Regions from separate parts of the Homo sapiens genome. Here regions 1 and 2 are each linked to region 3. Evidence: promoter capture Hi-C in 16 types of primary human blood cells and fetal thymus (Javierre and others, 2016). All regions are on one chromosome and are shown on one strand. The core of a region is centred on a gene start or on the middle of the fragment in contact, and the rest is flanking DNA. Distances in the headings are between cores, read along the strand shown. Region 1 overlaps LINC02352 (long intergenic non-protein coding RNA 2352). Region 2 has its middle 96 kb from the start of KLF13. Region 3 holds the start of KLF13 (KLF transcription factor 13).

Region 1 (4,314 bases), core at 1,098-3,597, 100 kb before region 3:
CCTGGCACCACTGGGCACCTGTGGTCATGGAGACAGGCCAGGACGTTGCAAAGGCAGAGTGCCTTCCTGGGCCTCTCATCTGGGCCGCTCTCCCTGTCAGTGTGGCTGACAGTGCCTGGCAGTCACCTGGGCGGGCCCCTGCTTCTCTCTTTGGGCCAGTGTTGGCTCTGGAGGCTCCCGGTGCATCTTTGTCTTCAGTCTGAATGCTGCACTCAGACTTTACCCTGGGGACAGGCAGGACACTGCCTCAGCCACCTGGGTAGCCGTTTGTGTGATTACCGTATCCAAGCTCCATGACTCATTCCTTCTCCACTGCCCCCACCCTACCCCATTTCCAGACTTGAAATGGTCTCCCACCTGCAGGCCATTGGCTCTATTGCGTTTCACCACGAATCTGATCTCCTCCGCTTTATATCTTCCAGAAATTCTCCAATGTTCTAGTCTGTTGGTGGCATTTTTCCTGGTTTTCAAGGATTTCTAAGTGTTTTTATATTTATCCTACTACATCAGAGGGTGGGGGAGATAGGTAGGAGAGGTGCAGTTGAGCCTTGAACAATGTGAGGGTTGGAGAGCCAACCCCTCACGCAGTCAGAGCTTGTATAACTTCAGGCTCCCTCCAAACTTAACTAATAAATAGCCTACTGTTAACTGGAAGCCTTACTGGTAACATTAAAAAATCAGTTAACACGTACTTTGTATGTGTATTTATACTGTATTCTTACAATAAACTAAGCTTGGGAAAATAAAATGTCATTAAGAATATCATAAGAGAAAGCATTTACTAAGTGGAAGTGGATTATCATAGAAGTCTTCATCCTCGTTGTCTTCATGTTGAGTGGCTGAGGAGGAGGGGCTGGTCTTGCTGCCTCAGGGTGGCAGAGAGGAAGACATGGAGGAAGTGGGAAGGGAGGCAGGAGAGGCAGGGACACTTGGTATAACTCTGATTGAAAAACATCCCTGTGGGTGGACCTGCACAGTTTGAACCTGCGTTGTTCAAGGGTCCACTGTGCTTGAAAGTGTTTAGTCAGCAGTCCTGAACGACATGTAAACAATGGTTGAATGAAGGAGCAAGGGAGCCTAAGGGTGGGGAGAGGCGGGTGTCGGCAAGGACCTTCCTCCAAGACAGGGTTGCTGCGAGGGGCAAATGGTGACTGATGATTCACAAGAAGGCGTACCTGTGTGACAGCACCTGTAAGCCAGGTGGGATCAGTGCGGCCTGTCGTCTGCTGTTGTCATGTGGAGCTCAGCAAACGGTGGGAGTCCTAGGGGACAACATACACAGCTTAGCAGCAGGTGCCCCTCTCTTCGAGCCTAATTTAGCCAATGGGAGTTTAATTTAGCCACGGGGGCGTAATTGCTAGAAGAAAAGAGAAGAAAAAAAACCTGATGCCCTCACCGCCTTCCAATCCTGACTCTTTAGGAAAAGCCTGGATCTCCGACATCTCCAGAGCGCCTGACCAAGCGTGAGAAGGCGGGATGTAGCCGGGGTGTGTGTGTCGGGGGGTGGCAGGATGCTCCCCAGAGGCGGAGAGCGGCGCGTGGGGGGTGCTGCAGGCGTCCTGGGAGTTTGGGGGCGCCGCCCTTCCTCCTGCCTTGGGCCCAACCGGTGGATCCTGTCGAGTCTGTTGTGGTCCCCTTCTTAGGAAAAGCACAGAGAGCCCTTTAAAGATGTTGACCTGACAGCAGCAGGGGGCCCAGGGTGACCACGGAGCAAATCAGGGAAAGGAAACTTAGGTCGCCACACATTTGATTTAAAAGAAAATAACTTCCCTCCTGAAGCAGGGGCTGGGGTAGGTGCCCTGGCACAGGCACAGAACCAGAGAGAACCCTTGCCGCTGCTCCGGAATGTCGGGCCACACCCTCCGGATACGGGAAAGGCTTTCTTCTCCATTTCAAATGACCCTGTTTCGCCTTTTTTAGATACAAATGTTTATTTGGTCTGACTTTGAAATACCTCGGAGCAGCTGAAATAATTGAAGGCAGCCCTGTAAGAAGCAGCACTTCCAGACCTTCTCACGGGCAAACCCTCTGCTGGGACCGCCAAGGGCCCCCGCGAGACACCTGAGGGTCAGCACAGCCCCTCCCTCCCTGTGCCGTGCTGGCCGTGCCGCAGCTGGTCACCCGCACGAGGACCTCGAGATTGCCCTGCGGACTGGCACTTCTCGAGGGAAGTCATCGCAGCTGCCATGGAGCCAGCATTTGTCGGGGACCTGGCACGCAGGCCACCGGCTCTGGGAGAGGGCTGAGGAGCCGTGGGGCTCACGTTTCAGGGATTAGCTTGTGTAACTTGACTTGTTCCCCCAAATTCTACAAGTACAGAGAATATGCAGAAATCTGTGAGAGAAACAACCTTCTGCAGCTCGTTGTTGTGGGGATTATATTAGTAAGATGCCTAGAAAATACGATTCAGAAGGAATGTGGGTGCGTGTGACTTGGTGGTGGGTGGGCTCCACTCACCACCCTCCCTCCGCACCTGTCCGAGGCATTTGAACCAGAGCAACTCCATTTCGAATAGGGGCCGGTAAAATAAGGCTAAGACCTACTGGGCTGCATTCCCAGATGGTTAAGGCATTCTAAGTCACAGGATGAGATACGAGGTCGGCACAAGATACAGGTCATAAAGACCTTGCTGATGAAACAGGCTGCAGTAAATAAGCTGGCTAAAACCCAAAATGGCAACAAGATGTGTCCTCTGGTGGTCCTCACTGCTACACTCCCACCAGCACCATGACAGTTTACAAATGCCATGGCAACATCAGGAAGTTACCCTATATGGTCTGAAAAGAGGAAGCATGAATAATCCACCTCCTGTTTAGCATATCATCAAGAAATAACCATAAAAATGGGCAACCCACAGCCCTTGGGGCTGCTCTGTCTATGGAGTAGCCGTTCTTTTACCCCTTTACTTTCCTAATAAACTTACTTTCACTTTATTCTGTGGACTCGCCCTGAATTCTTTCTTGCCTAAAATCCAAGAACCATCTCTTGGGGTCTGGATCGGGACCACTTTCCTCTAACACACCCACTGAGAAGTGCTTGCTGATGTTAGGGTTCACAGTGTCAGGGGCTGCCGTAGTGTCACCCCATTCTACAGATGAGAAAACAGCCTCAGAGTTTTTTGTTGTTGTTGTTTGAGATGGAGTCTCACTCTTTCCCCCAGGCTGGAGTGCAGTGGCGTGATCTTGGTTCACTGTAACCTCCGCTTTCTGGTTTCAAGCGATTCTCCTGCCTCAGCCTCCCGGAGTAGCTGGGATTACAGGTGCCCGCCACGCCCGGCTAATTTTTGTATTTTTGGTAGAGACGGGGTTTTACCCTGTTGGCTAGGTGCCTCTCAAACTCCTGACCTCGTGATCCGTGGGCCTCTGCCTCCCAAACTGCTGGGATTACAGGCATGAGCATCAGAGTTTTTAAGTCAGAACTGGAGCCTGAGCCCGACAGGTGACACAACCCGGCCTTCCCTGAGGGGCTGGCACGCCGCAAAAGGTCGCCAAGCTCTCCCTCTTCCGGTGTGAGGTGCAGCTCGCCGGTGGGTATGCACAGGGAGTCCTCTATTTTGCTCGGTTTTGCCTGGGACCATGTGCTCTGTGTACTGCATCATGGTCTCCACAGTGGATCTCGGTAGGCACAGCTGGACTTGGTCCTCAGTTGCCTGCTGTGCCCTGCTGGGGATCTTTTTGCACGGGCCATTCCCCCTCGCACTTGCCTTCCCTCCCCCGCTCCTGGCTGGCTCCCACTCTTGGCCGGGGCTCAGGCAGGATTCTCTACTAGACTCAGCAAAGCACCTGCAGTGGGCCTGTAATAGGAGGGAGTGGTGGGTCCGGAGTTGGTTCCTTCCAGTGGGATTGTGGTCTTGCTGATTTTGAGAATGGAGCCCCAGACCTTCCTGGTGTTACAGCTCTCAAAGAAGACAAGGACCCAAAGGGTGAGCAGCAGTAAGAGCTATTGTGAAGAGCAAAAGAACAAAGCTTCCCCACCACGGAAGAGGACCCCAGCAGGTTGCCTCTGCTGGCTCCGTGTGGAGAAGGGTTGGGGGGGAGGCAGCTTTTATTCTCTTATTTGTCCCCGCCCATGTCCTGTTCCTGTCCTATCAGAATGCCCTTTTCTCAATCCTCCCTGCGATTGGTTACTTTTAGAATCCTGCTGATTGGTCCATTTCACAGAGCGCTGATTGGTGTGTTTTACAAATCTCTTGCTAGCTACAGAGCACTGATCGGTGAGTTTTTACACAGCACTGATTGGTGCATTTTACAATCCCTTGCTAGCTACAGAGCACTGATTGGTGCGTTTTACAATCCTAGCTACGGAGTGCTGATT
Region 2 (4,706 bases), core at 520-3,019, 95 kb after region 3:
CCAACAAAACTGTTCTTCAAAAATGAAGGAGAAGGCAGCCAAGTGGTCTCCCAAGACCATAACCCAGCAGCCACTAGTGTCGTCGCCACCCATAAAAGAGCCGAGCTGAGTGGGGGTGCTGCCCAGAATCCTGTGGGCAAAAGACTACAGCAGGAGCTGATGACCCTCATGATATCTGGTGACAAAGGGATTTCTGCTTTCCTTGAATCAGACAACCTTTTCAAATGGGTAGGGACCATCCATGGAGCAGCTGGCACAGTGTATGAAGACCTGAGGTATAAGCTCTTGCTAGAGTTCCCCAGTGGCTACCCTTACAATGAGCCCACAGTGAAGTTCCTCACATCCTGCTACCACCCCAACATAGACACCCAGGGTAACATATGCCTGGATATCTGGAAAGACAAGTCGTCTGTACTGTATGGCATCAGGACCATTCTGGTCTCCATCCAGAGCCTGCTAGGAGAACCCAACATTGATAGCCCTTTGAACATGCATGCTGTTGAGTTCTGGAAAAACCCTACAGCTTTTACCTTCAAGAAACCTATTCAAAGCAGGTTACCAGCCAGGACCCCTGACCCAGGCTGCCCAGACTGTCCTTTTTTTTTCTTTCTTTTTTTTTTTTTTTGAGATGGAGTCTTGCTCTGTTGCCCAGGCTGGAGTGCAGTGGTGAGATCTCAGCTCACTGCAACCTCCACCTCCCAGGTTCAAACGATTCTCGTGCCTCAGCCTCCCGAGTAGCTGGGATTACAAGCACCTGCCACCATGCCCGGCTAATTTTGATATTTTTAGTAGAGACAAGGTTTCACCATGTTGGTCAGGCTGGTCACAAACTCCTGACCTCAGGTGATCTGCCCGCCTTGGCCTCCCAAAGTGTTGGGATTACAGGCATGAGCCACCATGCCTGGCTTCCCTGCCTATCTTTGTGTTGCCTTTTTAAGTTTTCCTTTGATGGTCTGTCCTGTCTGTGATTTCTGTATAGGACTCTGTATCTTCAGCTGTGGTATTATTTTTGTTTTGTTTTTGTCTTTTAAATTAAGCCTCGGTTGAGCCATTGTGATGTATATTAAATAAATACATTTTGGTTATTAAAAAAAAATGAAGGTGAAATAAAGACCTTCCCAGAAAAATAAAAGCTGAAGGTGTTTATCCACACTAAATCTACCTTACAAAAAAATGCTAAAGGGAGTTCTTCAAGTTGAAACAAAAGGACACTTGACAGCAACACAACGGCGTAAAAAATATAAAGCACTCAGTAAAGGGAGGTATATGGAAAAGTACAGAATTGTATAATATTCTAATGGTGGTACATAAATCACATTTAATCCTGGTATAAAATTTGAAAAAGTATAAATAGAACTATAATTATCAAACTTTGTTAATGAACATAAAATATAAAAATATGCAATTTGTGAAATAAATAACATAAAGTAGGGGAGATGTAAAATTTTTTATGTAATTGATATTAAGTTTTTGTCAGCTTAAAATAAATGGCTATAATGATAAGGTATTATACTTAATCCCCATGGTAATCACAAAGGAAATATCTGTAGAAGATATACAGAAGAAAATGAGAAAGGAATCAAACTTGTCACTAAAAAAAAATTAACAAAACCTAATGAAAGGCAGCAAGAAAGGAAAAGGGACAAAATAACTGCAAAGTATACAAAAAACAATCAACAAAATGGCAAAGTATGTCCTTTCCTGTCAGTAATTTTTATATGTGTAAATAAAAAGAAATAGAGGGCTGGCCGAGCGCGGTGGCTCACACATGTATTGCCAGCATTTTGGGAGGCCAGGACGGGCAGATCACCTGAGGTCAGGAGTTCGAGACCAGCCTGGCCAACATGATGAAACCCCATCTCTACCAAAAATATAAAAAATTAGCAGGGCATGGTGGCGTGCACCTGTAATCCCAGCTACTCAGGAGGCTGAGGCAGGAGAATAGCTTGAACCTGGGAGGCGGAGGTTGCAGTGAGCTGAGACCATGCCACTGCACTCCAATCTGGGTGACAGAGCAAGACTCCATCTCAAAAACAAACAAACAAACAAAAAAAAAAAAAAAAGAAAAAAGAAATAGAGTGGTTCAATAGATTTTTCAGAACCTCAAGACCCACTCACCTTAGATACAAAGATACATATAGGCTGTGTATTAGTCCATTCTCACAGTGTTATGAAGAAATACCCAAGACTGGGTAATTTATAAAGGAAAGAGGTTTAATTGACTCATAGTTCTTCATAGCTGGAGAGACCTCGGGAAACTTACAATCACGGTGAAAGGCAAAGGAGAAGCAGGCACCTTCTTTTCAGGGTAGCAGGACAGAGTGAATGCAAGCAGGGGAAACGGTAGATGCTTATAAAACCATCAGATCTCCTAAGACTCACTCATTACCATGAGAATATGGGGGAAACCATCCCCATGATCAAATTACCTCCACCTACCCTGCCCTTGACATGTGGGGATTATTACAATTCAAGGTGAGATCTGGATGGGGACACAGAGCCAAACCATATCAGGCTGCAAGTGAAAGAATGGAAAAAGGTATTACATGCAAATTGCAACCAAAAGAGAGCAGTGCTGGCCAATTTATATCAGACAAAATAGACTCTAAGACAAAAACTGTCACAAGAGACAAAAATGAACATATAACAATAAAAGAATCAATTTTCAGCTGGGCGCAGTGGCTCAGGCCTATAATCTCAGCATTTTGGGAGGCTGAGGTGGGCTGATCACCTGTGGACAGGAGTTTGAGACCAGCCTGGCCAACATGGCAAAACCCTGTCTCTACAAAAATACAAAAAAAATTAGCTGGGCTTGGTGGTGGACACCTGTAGTCCCAGCTACTCAGGGGGCTGAGGCAGGAGAATCACTTGAACCTGGGAGACAGAGGTTGCAGTGAGCTGAGATCACGCCACTGCACTCCAGCCTGGGTGAGAGTGAGACTCCTTCTCAAATAAAAAAAAGCAAGAATCAATTTTCCAGTCATATAACAATTACATATATATACGTATATATACGTATACGTATACGTATATATACGTATATATACGTATACGTATACGTATATATACGTATATATATGTATATATATACATATATACGTATATATATATATCAGTAGCTCACTCAAATATATGAAGCAAATGTTGAAAGAATTGAAGGGACAAATAGGCAGTAACACAGTAATAGAAGGAGATTTTAATACCTTGCTTTCAATAATGCATAGAATAACCAGACAGAAGATTAATAAAGAAACAGATAACTTGGGCCGGGTGCTGTGGCTCACGTCTGTAATCCCAGCGCTTTGGGAGGCTGAGGTGGGTGGATCACGTGAGGTCAGGAGTTCGAGACCAGGCTGGCCAATATGGTGAAACCCCGTCTCTACTAAAAATACAAAAATTAGCCGGGTGTGGTGGTGGGTGCCTGTAATCCCAGCTACTCAGGAGGCTGAGGCAGGAGAATGGCTTGAACCCAGGAAGCGGAGGTTGCAGTGAGCCAAGATTGTGCCATTGCACTCCAGCCTGGGTGACAAGAGTGAGATTCCATCTCAAAAAAAAGGAACTTGAACAACATTATAGACCAGTTGGACCTACAGACATATACAGAATACTCTAAGAACTACAGAATAAATGTTCTCTCAAACTCACATGGAACATTCTTCAGGATAGATCACATGTTAGGCCACAAAACAAATCTTAAATTTAAGAAAATTGAAATCATACCAACTGTCTTTTCTGATTTTGTTGGAATAAAACTAGAAATCAATAGCAAAAGGAAAACGGGTAGATCACAAATATGGGGAAATTAAACAATACACTCTTGAACAACTAATAGATCAATGAAGAAATCACGAGAGAAATTGGGAAGTGTTTTGAGACAAATGCCAACAAATTTGATAGCCTAGAAGAAATAGAGAAATCTCTAGAAACATACAACCTACCAATATTGAATCGTGAAGAAATAAAAAATCTGAACAGATTTAAAGCTAGTAGAGAGATTAAATCACTAACCAAAAACTTTCCCACCTAGAAAAGCCCAGGACCAGGTGGCTTCACTGGAGAATTCTACCAAACACTTAAAAAAGAATTAATATAAATTATTTGCAAACTTTTTAAAAAATTGAAGAAAAAGGAATTTGATGAGACCAACATTACTCTGATTCCAAAATTAGACAAAGATACTACAGGTAAAGAAAACTACAAACTTCCCTGATTAATATTGATGCAAAAATCCTCAACAAAATACTAGCAAACCAAATTCGATGACACATTAAAAGGTTTATACACCATGACCAAGTGGGATTTATTCCTGGAATACAAGGATGGTTTAACATATGAAAATCAACAATGTAATATCACATTAAAAGAATGGAGGACACTATGTTCCAACTGTTCTATATATATGTAAGTAAAAAAAGAAAAAAGAATGAAGGACAAAAACCACATGATCATTTCAATTGATGCAGAAAAAGCCTTAGAAAAAAATTCTACACCCTTTCATGATAAAAACACCTGACAAACTATCAATAGAAAGATATTATCTGACCATATTAAAGTGTATACAAAAAGCCCACAGCCAACATCAAACTCAGTGGTGAAAAACTGAAAGCTTTATCTCTAAGGTTAGGGACAAGGCAAAGATGCCCATTCTTGCCACTTCTATTCAACATAGTAATGGAAGTTCAGCTAGAGGAATTAGACAAGAAGAA
Region 3 (4,195 bases), core at 377-2,876:
CCCAGTCCAGCACCTTTAGTCTCCCCAGAGGGTAGCAACTCAATCAGCGAGACCGCATTTCAGGGTTTTAGTTACAGATACTGAGGGTGCTCAAACATCCATGCAGTTTGCTGTTCACCGTAACACGCAACCCAGAATGGCCGTTTCGGTCCCTCGTCGGTTACCTGAAAACCAGTCTTACTGAGCTCCAACCCCAAATTAATTTGGTGAGAACTCGAACTCGGCTATTAACCTTAATTCTGAGAGAAGAATGACACCCCCCTCCCACTGCGAGGGTCCACTGAGGGTGAGTGCCCGGGCTCCTTCATTCTCCAGGCTCCTCTCAGAACACAGCAAGGGTGGCTGACTCCTTCGAACGTCCATTAAGCACAATGCAACGGGGCGAGGCAGTAGGGGGTTTGCTGAGCCCGGTTCCGCGGCGGTGGGAAGTTATTCACCGGCGTCTCCGAGGACGGCCCAGGCCTGGAGAATGGCTGGGGCCGCGGGCTGGGGTAGGGGTTACCGTGAGAGTCAAGGGCAAGGTGGCCCAGCCCGGGCTGGGAGGCGCGGGCTGGGCGCAGCCGAGCATTTCCTCCGGGAGGCCCAGACAGCGGGCGGGTGGGGCGCGGTGGGCGGGGTCCTCGCAGCTGGTGGCGTTTGAAGCCCCCCCGACCGCGGTGGGAGAGGGGCAGCCTAGAAGAGTTGGCAGCGGGCCTGCGGCGGGATGGGGAGGAAGGGGCCCCGCGTTCCCTCAGCAGCGGCGCCGGCCGCCCTGGCACGTAGTTCGCTTCTGGAGGCACAGGCCGCGGTGGGCGCGCCACCCGGGCTGCCAGGCTCACCGCCAGCCGAGGCCAGTCCTGCTCGGGCTGACCCGAGCTGAAGGGCAGCGCGGCCGCACCCCGGACCCCAGGAACGAGCCCGAGTCTGTCCCTCCCGCGGGAGCTGCCCCGCCCGGACTCCCGGAGCTCTGCAAGGCAGGGGCGTGGGGAGGGCGAGCGGCCTGAGGCTCTAGGCGCGGCCACCCGGCAAGCCGGCGGCGGAGGGCGCGGCGCGAGTGCGTTCCGCCCCTAGGCAGCCCCGCGCCCGGCCGGGCAGACACGCCTCCCCGCCGGCGCCCATCGCGGGAGGAACAAATGGCGCCCTCCAGAAACCGCTCCCCTCCATGCCGGGGGCCAAGGCTGTCACCACATAAAAGCTCCGGCAGAGAAGTGCTCGCTGTGTCCCCGCCGCGGGGGGTACAAGCAGCCGCTCCGCGCCGCGACTACCCGGCCCGCCGCCCCCGGACGTCATGCGTCAGCGCGCCCCGCTCCAGTTTCCGCCCCTCCTCCCACCGGCCCAGGGGACACGCCCACTGGCGCGCGCAGGGCCCGGGACCGGGCACGCCCCTCTAACGGCTCGGATTGGCCTGGCCGTGCACTCACGGACCAATGGCGTCTGTCCCGGCCCTCGGTCACGCCCCCTTGCCCAGGCGCGGGCACGCGACCGCTCCGTTCCGCCGGTGCGCGCTCTGGGGTCCCCGCCCCCTCCGCGCGCGCAGCTCCCCGCAGCCGCCGCCGCCTGTAACCTGCGCCGCCAGGATGTGGCTGGGGGCTGACGTCGGGTCCAGATGTGGCCCCGGCCCCGCCCACCCCCGGGGCCGGGCCGCCCACACGGAGCCGCGGCGCGCACGGCAGCTGTCCCGCCTGCCACAATGCGCGGCGAAGCTGCGGCCGCGACTTGGCGAGGTGGTCCCTAACGTTGCCGCTCGGCATCCTTAGAACCGGCCGCCCCTGACGCCGCGCGGGGACCCCAGTCGCCCGCGCGCCCCATGCGCTCACTCTTCGGTGCCCGGCCGGGCCGGCGCCTCGCAGACGCGGAGCCGCGCGGGTGACGGCACAGGCGGCTGCGCGCCCAGCCCAGCCCAGCCCAGCCCGAGGAGAGGGCGCGCCGCGCCCCCGCCCCCCGCCCGCTCTCCCGAGGCCGTGGGTGCGGATGCGCGGCTGACGACTCGCAGCAAGAGCACCGCCGCCGGCCCCAGCCCGCAGCATGGCAGCCGCCGCCTATGTGGACCACTTCGCCGCCGAGTGCCTCGTGTCCATGTCGAGCCGCGCGGTCGTGCACGGGCCGCGGGAGGGGCCGGAGTCCCGGCCCGAGGGCGCGGCCGTGGCCGCCACCCCCACGCTGCCCCGCGTCGAGGAGCGCCGCGACGGTAAGGACAGCGCCTCGCTCTTCGTGGTGGCGCGGATCCTAGCGGACCTCAACCAGCAAGCGCCGGCGCCCGCCCCGGCGGAGCGCAGGGAGGGCGCCGCGGCCCGGAAGGCGAGGACCCCCTGCCGCCTGCCGCCGCCCGCCCCCGAGCCCACCTCCCCCGGCGCCGAAGGCGCGGCGGCCGCGCCCCCCAGCCCGGCGTGGAGCGAGCCGGAGCCCGAGGCGGGGCTGGAGCCCGAGCGGGAGCCGGGGCCCGCGGGGAGCGGCGAGCCCGGCCTCAGACAAAGGGTCCGGCGGGGCCGAAGTCGCGCCGACCTCGAGTCCCCGCAGAGGAAGCACAAGTGCCACTACGCGGGCTGCGAGAAAGTTTACGGGAAATCTTCGCACCTCAAGGCGCACCTGAGAACTCACACAGGTCAGTGGGGCGGCGCGGGCGCCCGGATCGCGCGGACGGGGTCGGCGCGAGCTGCCCGACCACGCCCCCGGAGTCCCCGATGGGGCGCGAGGTGGGGGCCGGGCGGGCCGGAACGCCCGGGGCCTCGCCCCTTCCCCTGCCGCTCCGACCCGCGGCTGGCCCCGCGCGTCGCGCGAGGCGGGTCTTGGCTCTCGGAGCCGGCGCCCGCCAGGCGACCGCGCCCCCGCCGGGCACGCCCCCTCCCCGGGCGCGCTCGGGTGGGGCCGCGGGGGCGGATATAGTCATCTGGGCTGGGGGCGGGGACCCCTCCCGGCCGGGAGGCGGCGCGGGCAGGTGCGGGCGGCCTGGGTGTGGACCGCAGGCGGCACTCGTGACGGTGGGGCGCCCGGAGCGGGGGCAGGGGACGCTCTCCGGGGTCCCTCCTCGTTTCCTCCCCCGCTGCCCGGGCGCGCGCTCAGGAGGGGAGGGGCCGGCCCCGGCGCGCGGCGGGCGAAGTTCACGCAGGGACAAGGTTTCCTTCGCCACTCGGCACATTCTTCGCTCTCTTCTTCCTGTAATTTTTCCAGCGCTCTAAGGTTTAATTTGTCGTAACCAAAGTCAGCGGCGGCGCTTGGCGATGCGGGGGGCGGTCCCGGGTCCCGCTCCCCGCCTGCGGCTCTTTGTGGGAGCCCCCGCCCATCCGGCCCGGCGGGGGCGCGCCCGGCCCTAGGCTCCTCGGCCTCGAGGCTCTCTCCGGAAAGGAATGCCCTGGCCGCTGCCCATCCTCCGTGCTGCCCTCTCGCCTGCCCACCTCTCACCTGCCCTGGGCCGGTGCGGGGCGGGCGGCACCTGCACCAGGGCGGGCGCTGAGCCTCCAGCCTGGGGATCACCGCCCGCCCCCGCCAGCCCAGCGGCAACAGTTCCCACGCGCGGCCCGATACTTTGTAGTTGATTCATCTGTGGCGGTTCCCTCCCCCCTTTTTGTTTCGTTTTTAACATAAAGATGAAAATATTTTAATGGACGGCAATCCTTCCCCATTTTGGTGTAAAGAATTGTATGCTTCCTCTGAGCTCACGTGAGTTCTTCTGTGACACTCACCTCTTCTACCTTGGGGGCAGGCTCAAAACCCGTCTACTGAATACTGTTGTCTTGTGACCAAGGGTGGTGGTCTCTCATTTGTAAAATAGTTCACATAGTGATTAAAAGGCATAAAAAGAAGCTGCAGCCTTGGATACCCTAGAGCTGAAGGCCCCTTTTTTTTACCATTTGGAACTGAAAGGGCCCAAGGTCTGCAGGTGAGGCTTTCAGATCTCGGACTAACTTTCCCCAGGGAGGCTTTTGTGGCCGCTCCAAACCACGTGGCAGGTGATGGGGTAGAGGGTGAGAGCGGGGCCATTTCTAGGCATTCGGGGTCAGTTAAGGGTGTGGGGGCTCAGGTTGGGGGTGGGAGTCAGTGTGGGCTCAGAGTTCAGCTCGGGACGCGGCTGCAGGGTGGGTGTGGCCCTGGGGGAGGGGCCAGGCTAGGCTCAGCTCGGCTCCAGGTGGATCCTGAGTATCGGGTGGGGGCAGCGATTGGGGCGTGGCTGGGGTTGAGATCCGCTTTGGGGGATGATGCCCGTGCTGGGCAGGATACT

The links. Contacts are between HindIII fragments. The CHiCAGO score rates a contact against its expected background, and 5 or more counts as called.
Region 1: a contact is called between a fragment that was not itself captured here and the fragment with the promoter of KLF13 in region 3, in 16 of 17 cell types (non-activated CD4 T cells, total B cells, neutrophils and 13 more). The highest score is 16.8, in non-activated CD4 T cells.
Region 2: a contact is called between a fragment that was not itself captured here and the fragment with the promoter of KLF13 in region 3, in 1 of 17 cell types (total B cells). The highest score is 5.2, in total B cells.

Annotation. Positions count from the first base shown.
Region 1 is chr15:31,222,075-31,226,388 of GRCh38, forward strand. LINC02352 (long intergenic non-protein coding RNA 2352) reads left to right here. Exons shown (of 2, transcript NR_135834.1): 2 at 1,921-2,933. LINC03034 (long intergenic non-protein coding RNA 3034) reads right to left here. Exons shown (of 4, transcript NR_171016.1): 3 at 1,397-1,638; 4 at 693-1,262. Among named protein-coding and RNA genes, the nearest start is that of LINC03034, 6.6 kb to the right of the region's middle. RefSeq lists an enhancer at 3,660-4,232. The HindIII fragment of the contact is 3,232 bases long and covers 732-3,963 here.
Region 2 is chr15:31,420,086-31,424,791 of GRCh38, forward strand. It overlaps a transcript of KLF13 not described here and the pseudogene UBE2CP4. Among named protein-coding and RNA genes, the nearest start is that of KLF13, 96 kb to the left of the region's middle. The HindIII fragment of the contact is 5,670 bases long and covers 1-4,604 here.
Region 3 is chr15:31,325,209-31,329,403 of GRCh38, forward strand. It overlaps KLF13 (KLF transcription factor 13), which reads left to right and starts at 1,627. Exons shown (of 2, transcript NM_015995.4): 1 at 1,627-2,581. The coding sequence starts at 2,005. RefSeq lists a promoter at 752-1,808 and an enhancer at 836-1,349. The HindIII fragment of the contact is 12,301 bases long and covers 1-4,195 here.